Regions from separate parts of the Homo sapiens genome. Here region 2 is linked to region 1. The links are contacts of gene promoters, found by promoter capture Hi-C in human tissues and cell types (Jung and others, 2019). All regions are on one chromosome and are shown on one strand. The core of a region is centred on a gene start or on the middle of the fragment in contact, and the rest is flanking DNA. Distances in the headings are between cores, read along the strand shown. Region 1 holds the start of UGT1A6 (UDP glucuronosyltransferase family 1 member A6). Region 2 overlaps USP40 (ubiquitin specific peptidase 40).

What was found. The method cuts DNA at HindIII sites, captures the fragments that hold promoters and counts their contacts. A contact is called where the count stands out against the background at its distance.
Region 2: a contact is called between a fragment that was not itself captured here and the fragment with the promoter of UGT1A6 in region 1, in 2 of the 25 tissues and cell types used here (liver and mesendoderm cells).

The regions. Positions count from the first base shown.
Region 1 is chr2:233,691,593-233,695,197 of GRCh38, reverse strand. UGT1A6 (UDP glucuronosyltransferase family 1 member A6) reads right to left here and starts at 2,308. Exons shown (of 5, transcript NM_001072.4): 1 at 1,333-2,308. The coding sequence starts at 2,193. All of the region lies in intron 1 of UGT1A8 (UDP glucuronosyltransferase family 1 member A8), which reads right to left. All of the region lies in intron 1 of UGT1A10 (UDP glucuronosyltransferase family 1 member A10), which reads right to left. The region is part of intron 1 of UGT1A9 (UDP glucuronosyltransferase family 1 member A9); the gene reads right to left. It also overlaps UGT1A7 and UGT1A. RefSeq lists enhancers at 2,956-3,562, 3,563-3,605. The HindIII fragment of the contact is 31,227 bases long and covers 1-3,605 here.
Region 2 is chr2:233,510,528-233,514,462 of GRCh38, reverse strand. It overlaps USP40 (ubiquitin specific peptidase 40), which reads left to right. Exons shown (of 32, transcript NM_001365479.2): 19 at 1,841-1,894; 20 at 2,666-2,754. Among named protein-coding and RNA genes, the nearest start is that of USP40, 54 kb to the left of the region's middle. The HindIII fragment of the contact is 4,674 bases long and covers 236-3,935 here.

The DNA of each region.
Region 1 (3,605 bases), core at 1,059-3,558:
GCTGAGATCGCACCACTGCACTCCAGCCTGATGACAGAGTGAGACTCTGTCTCAAAAAAAAAAAAAAGAAAAGAAAAGGGTTGGTTAATGGGCACAAAAACACCATTAGATAGAATGAGTAAGTCCAAAGTGCGATAGCACAGTAGGGTGACTATGGTTAACAAGAATGTATACTGCAGTTCAAAATAGCTAGAAATGAAGAATGGGAATGTTCCCAACATAAGGAAGGAATAAATGTTCAAGGTGATGGATATCTCAATTACCCTGATTTGATCATCGCACATTGTATACGTGTATCAAAATATCACATGAACCCCCCAAATGTGTACAACTATATTATGTCCCAATTAAAAGAATCCTGACATTCTATGTTTTTATTTCATGCCCCAGAATCCCTGGAACCATTTCAGTTATCCCCATCCCCTCACCCTTGCCTTTTCACAGTGGCTACTGCCAACTGTTCAAATTGTTAACAGAGAAATCAGCAGGTGTAAAGAAGAGAGGTAAGGGTCTTTGGGACCTGTTTGAGGCTTTCTCTCTGATAAAAAAGGAACTGGAAAAGAAAATTGAGGCATAAAAGATAGAGGGAGTTGCCTGAAGCCCTTCAAAGTTGTAAATATTTACATTGAAATTTAAAACTCACAGATTTTTATTTTCCAAAGTAACTCTGGGCCCTTTTCCTACATGTCAGGAGGGCATCTGTAAACACTTGTCTTAGGTCAGAGGCCATACCCCTTTTGCTGAAAAGGCCAGTCAGTAAATGTGTAGGCTTTGCAGACCAAATACTTCTGTGGCACATATTCTTCATTGTTAAATTGTTTTAAAACTACAAAAACCATTCTTAGCTCTGGGCCATATAAAAACAGGTCTCAACATAAAAGGAAAAAAAAAAACAAAAAACAGGCCTTTGGGCAGATTGGGCTCACAGGCTGTAGTTCGCTGGTCCCTGGCTCAAGGTCCAGAGACAAAGCATGGGACAGAGTTGGGAAAATGGATTTTAACCTGGACCTGTTCCCTTAGTCAAGCCTTCACCTCTGTTTGAACTGGGACATTTCTAAGGCTCATTCAATGAGTATGTGACTGTCCCAGATTATCCAACTAAGCAAATCTCCTACTCTTGCCAAGCATGAGCCCTGTCTTCATCCGAATGCCTCTGTATCACTTCAGCCTCAGGTCTCCTATGTGTTCCCGCTGCTCCGAGCCGGGTATCACTTCCCCCCACCGTTTCTCCAGGAAATCCTCCAAGGGACAGTCGGCTCAAGGAGCCAAATGAGTGAGGGAGGACAGAGCCTGGAAGAAACAAGGCAGTCCAAAAGAAATAAACCCACCAACCTGAGACAAGTCTTTCCTCTTCTTACAGTTGATACCTCCAATGAAGACCATGTTGGGCATGACCGGCCTAGGATATTCAAGCACAAAGTCATATCTTAACAGCCAAACAGAGACCTTCTGATATAAGGTGATTATATCCACATCTCTCTTGAGGACAGCTGATGCGAGTTCTTCATACTTTGAAAACAGACAATAAAATAGATAGGGCTCCAACAAATTAACAAGGAAGTTGGCCACTCGTTGGGAAAAAGTCATGTGGTCTGAAAACTTTGTGTAGCACCTGGGAATGTAGGACACAGGGTCTGGGCTTCTGCTGAATGTATGCTCCAGGGAACACGGAAAACCCCTGAAGAGGTACACAGATGGTAGGCCCAAATACTCAGCCAGGATCACCCCACAGGGTAAGGCTGGGTCTGTGAAAAGAGCATCAAACTTGCTCTCCTTAAAGAAGTTCAGGGTGTCCCTGTCCTGCAGGAGGCTCTGGCAGTTGATGAAGTACAGGCCAATAACAATCATGTTATTCCTGTACTCTGTCTGAGGAGCAGTTAGGAATGATCGCTCAGCAAAGTGATTGTTTCCAAATGATTGGTAACGGTTCTTCAGCTCTTCTTGGTCATACGGCACTGGATAGATTTTTCTTGTGTAGTATTTGGATTCTTTCAAAAGCAAATTAACTTCAGGCACCACCACTACAATCTCATGACCCCGGTCACTGAGAACCTCAACTATATCCTTCATACTAAGCCAGTGGCTTCCGTCCTGAGGGACCACCAGCAGCTTGTCACCTACAACCATGCCCCAAAGTGCTAAGAAGAAAACCCCTGCAGAAATTCTCTGAAATGAGCGAAGGAGGCAGGCCATCCTGGAAAGAGTTAAAGTAACAACGGTAATAAAGAGTTTTCACTCTCCAAATCACAGGGCTCCTAGGTATTTTCCCTAAACTAACCACTGCTTTTCACAGGTCCTGTCTACCTCTCCCTTGCTCTGAATTTTACCCTTTGATATGTAAGAACCCAAATTAATATTTAACCATTTTAATCACATGGTTAATATGAACCAACTATGGCCGTGTCAGCTTTCACCTGAGCTTCTGGGTGTTTCTCTTCAGCTCCACAAGTCTGCTTCTCCCTCTCTGAAAAGTTATAGCAACACTTTGAAGATGACTTGGAGAGACCCCTGAGGACCCCCTGCCAATTCTCTATCCCGAACTTGCTGGATTCCTCATCATTGACGTTGTCTGTTATGTCCATGATGTGCGGGAATTTTTCTTGCACACGGACCTATTCTCTAACACCAGCTGGGTATCCTACAATTCAATTCCATTCTGAACTGAATTCTGAGTTAGCACGGACCCCACAGGTTAAGGGCTCAGTCCTACAAGACTGCCCTCACTTCAGACACCAATTGCAAGTAGTAGGTCCCCAGGTTACCCACAACTTCTGTCTGACTTGGCAAAAATCAGAGGTTCACACACCCTCTTTCTTGGAGTCAATCATTTGCTAGAATGGCTCACAGAACTGAAGAAAACAGTTTATTTACTAGGTTTGGTTTATTACAAAGGATATTGCAAACAATACGGATGAATAGCCAGAGGAAAAAGTACAAAGAACAAGATATGGGGGTATGGCCATGGAGCCCCATCTGCCATCTCTGGGTGCCCCACCCTCCACACCTTCAGCAACCTGAAAGCTCTCTGAACCCTGCCCTTCTGAGTTTTTATGTAGGCTTCCATACATAGTAGGCATGATTGATTAGATTGTTGCCCATCGGTGATCAAATCAATCTTCAATCTCTCTCTCCTTTCTTCCCTCTAATCGCAAGGGTTTTGTTCCCTGGCAACTAGCCCTCATCCTTAGAGACTTTACATCTCCTTTACATAAACTTAGGTGTGATCGAAAGGGATCTGTTTTGAATAACAAAAGATTCTTTGTTCACGTTTATCGCTCCCACCACTTATGGTTTCAGGAGCTGTGTCCAGGAAACAAAGACAAACATATATTTCTTATTATACATCACAATATAACAACATTCAAACTGTTACTTGCCTTTAGGAAATTAAGATTTGAGAAGTATAAGTCTAGCCAGTACGTGGTGAGAATCCTAGAGCAGGAGTCAGAAAGCCTGGTATCTGCTTCTGGCCCAGCCACCCATCTGCCAGGGGAGTGACTCCTCTCCTGAGCTTCAGGTTTCTCAACTGAGGCCCAGAAAGGGAGGGTCACACTGGCCCTGCCTGCTAACCACACTGCTGAGGGCGGTCCCAGAGCAAGACCTGT
Region 2 (3,935 bases), core at 1,323-3,822, 180 kb after region 1:
AGTGCACAAGCTCTCTTTAACCCCCAAGACTTCTTAGTGCTCAGTCTCTCTTTCAAGTCTCTTCCCTTTGCTTTTAACTTCAGCTGTTTATTTGGTCTTATATGAGATGTTCCTTCTCCTTTCATCCCTGACCACACAGTCCCAGTTAATCTTGCTGATGTACTCTCCTAACACCCTGTACTTTTCCTTCATAGCATTTATCACTGTAGCTGCCCTTTTATTTGTGTTTTTAATATCCACCTCCCCCATTAGACAAGGTTCTGTGAGGACTGAGTTTACACTGCTTTGCTTACCACTGTATTTCCAGTTTCTAGCACAGTGCCTGGCACGTAGCCAATACACAGTAAGTACCTGTTCAGTGAAAACCAACAGATTTTAAAGAGACAGTATTTTAAAAGCACTTTTTAAGTTGGGGAACTCTTTAAGTAAATTGTTTCCGTCGACAAGAGATTTATGTGAGAATTGTATGCTAGCCTCATATTACTGTAATACAAGATATTGAACTCAGGAATCTCAGAAAGGGATTCTGCTGTGGTCTAATAAAGTTAGAACTTCTAAGGCTCAGACTATTGTTGTCTATACAGAACACTCAACCTTCCCCCACCCCTCCAATTTATGTCCTACTTTTTAAGAATTCTGTTTGAACTGAAAACTTGGTATGCCCCTTCCAAGCACCAGGGGATCTTGAGGAAATATATTCTTCCAAAGCAAGAATCTGTATCCTCAAACATAGCACATGCTGGCCGATTTAATAAGCATAAAATCACCCAACATATTTTAAATATAGGCAGTCTGCTTGTACTGCTCTGACATGCACGAATTTCATTACTACCATTTAGTTATATAACATCAATCCCCCAGCAAGATGGTTAAAATTTCAGCAACCATGGTATATGGTATATTAACTGTAACTGAATAAAGTACACACTTGACTGCCAGCTCTTCAGGGCACAATTCATCACATAAATAACACATGTGCACCACAAGCAGTAACCATTGACTTCATTTCTTTCAAGTCTGGTGGTTTGTCACTGCATGTACACTTCATTACACAGACAGCAAAGCATGTAGTTGTGTTGTAGTGCTAAACCCACCATGACATTTTACAAGAATACATAATCAAAAGAGGGAATTGACCAACAGAGAAGAAAGTACACAAAGAAACAAAAGTATATGGAGTTATAGAAGCAGCAGCTACCTCTGGGAATGTTGACCCTGCAGTCACTCAAGAGACTCTAGATATTGGAAGCTGATCCAAACTTAGAAAGGAGTATGACAGTTTGCCACAGGACAGGAAAAATGTCACTCTATATTATAAGCTATGCAATGAGAAGAAACCAAGCCCTGCTTAAACGACTCTTTATATGTAATTTACAAAGACAGAAAACATTTTAATTCTCAAAGATTCTAGTATTTTAAATTATAGTATAAATATTGGTTTTACTGTTTTTTCCTTTCCCAATACATGTATAATATTAATAACGAAGAGGGTTTTAAATGTTTCAACAAAAATTTTTAAGTGTCATGGAACGATTGTAATTTTTCCATTGATTATTAATATTGTTTTGCACAGTTTGACCAGGTACTTTTAGTCTTGCACTACTGCACAAAACAAAGACTGCCTGTACTTATTTTGGGGGTTTTTTCTTTGGTTGTTGGGGGGTTTTTGGTTTGTTTTTGTTTTTAGCTTTCTGTAGTTTTCTGCTAATTAACACAATAGAGCATCTCTCTTTTGTTTTCTGTGTTTGATGCTGTAACCAGCTTCCTTTTATTTTGATAATAGGATGAAGGTTATTAATTCCTAGCTCTCTAAGAAAAATAATATTCCTTTTATATATAGCTGACAACAGCTGTTTGAGACCTATTGATAGAAATGGGAAGCTTCTTTGTCCAGGTAAATCTTTTTGATAACTTTCAAAAGGTGGCTTATACTCGTCTGTCTTTCTTGATAAATAGTGGCCTCCAATACCTAATATTTAAAAATTACCTTTTGGAAACTGATTTATAGGACATATTTTCTTCCAGGTATCTTACCTTTATATTGCAGAAATCCTTAACCAGAAACAAACACTTCTGTTTTCTAAATGAAACACCATTCTTTCTGATTATCCGATTCTCATTTTACTCACGGGTTTGATCTAGTTATATTTTTTCCAGCTTTATTTTCAAAATTTTTCCATTTTTTTGTGAATTTTATTGCGATACCAATTATGAAATAAAATCTTCAGTTCTCATCTCTGTATCACCTCTTACCATTAGATTTAATTTAGTCATGGATGAGCCTAATTATTGATGGTAATAACAATCTCAACTTTAAACTTGGAAGAAGCTACTTCTTCATTTATGGATTGATTTGGATTATCTGGCTTTTAATCTATATAAACAACAGCTCTTTGAACAAGTCATTTTTATTAAGTAGGAAACTAGACTTTCATAGCTTCCATTTAGCATTGTTACATAGAAAACAGGAAGACAATATCTTAAGAGTATGGAAATTGAAAATCAAACCTAATCTTAGTGCATGTAATCCTTTTGTCTGAAGTGCAACTCATTTTTCTTCTTTCTTGATATTCTTGATTTTCAAAGAAATACTGATTTCAGCATTTATTTTTCTTAGAGAGCTAGGAATTAATAACCTTCATCATATTATCAAAATTTTTTTAAGTGCCGGACAGCTATACTTTGAAGGAAGCAGAATTGAAGATGGGAAGTTCATTGGGACTGTGTCTTGGAAAAGCACCAAGTTCGTCTCAGGTAAAATAAGGTCACCTGTTTCAAAACAAAATCAACCCTTCCATAACCAGAATTATAACTAGTACCTTAGCTACTCCAGTAATATTGTTTTTCTCTAAAAGTTTTTTCTTAAATCATACATTTTATTTTAGGAATATATCCTTATAGTTCTAGATGTTTAAATATAAAATATTATGCCAAAGCATATTTATGTTTCTTTTTCTGTGAAGATTTTGTGGTTAAAAGGAATCTTTGATGCTGAGTGGCCACCACTTTCAACCACTATATTTCCTAAGTTCTAAGATACACCTTCTTTTTCTCACATTTTTACATCTGTGAGATTAGGTTGCATCTTACAGTCAGGGACGTTCTGCAGTTATAGCTGGCACTGGTACAGAAAATAGTAAGTCTAACACTCAGTAGCATTTTAGGTTGAATGAAACACAGTTTATTAATTTTAGACTTAATTACTCTCTGCACTAATAGTCTCAGAGCAGCCTCCCTTTCCCCTTGTCTTTAACAGTGTCCATTTTCAGTATAAAACACCATCAGGTTTGACCTTTGCCAGAAGCCATACCCAGCTAATCAGCTTATTACAGTGCAGAAATCATAAGGATATTCTTATTGTGAATACCCTGTAGCAGGGTAATCTGGACTCAAATCAGGTTGCCCATGGTTCCCAAATTCACTTCATTACTTTCCCAACCACTTCCCCCTTAACTTGCTTTCCCCTGAACCGTAGCAAATAGTAGTGCATGACAAGCTGATAGGAGGGAAAACATGACAAGTGAGGTTGAGTTAGAAAGGAAAAGCAGGGCTATGAGGAACTGAATAAGAGATCAGATTTGTATTTTTCCTTTGGAGTCTTGAGAATTGTAATATTTGAAACCCTTGGCAGAAAATAAAATCATAACCAAGTGACTCAGAAAAAACATACTAATGCTAACTGTGTGTAGTAATTACAAATTCCTTTTGGGAGTGATCGAGACAGAGATGGAGATCATAGTAGAAGAAATAGTGTATGTTGGCCGGGCGCGGTGGCTCACATCTGTAATCCCAACCCTTTGGGAGGCTGAGGCGGGTGGATCACCTGAAGTCAGGAGTTCAACACCAGCCTGGCCAACATGGTGAAACCCTGCCTCTACTAAAAATACAAAAAATTAGCCAGGCGTAGTGGCATGCACCTGGAATCCCAGCTACAT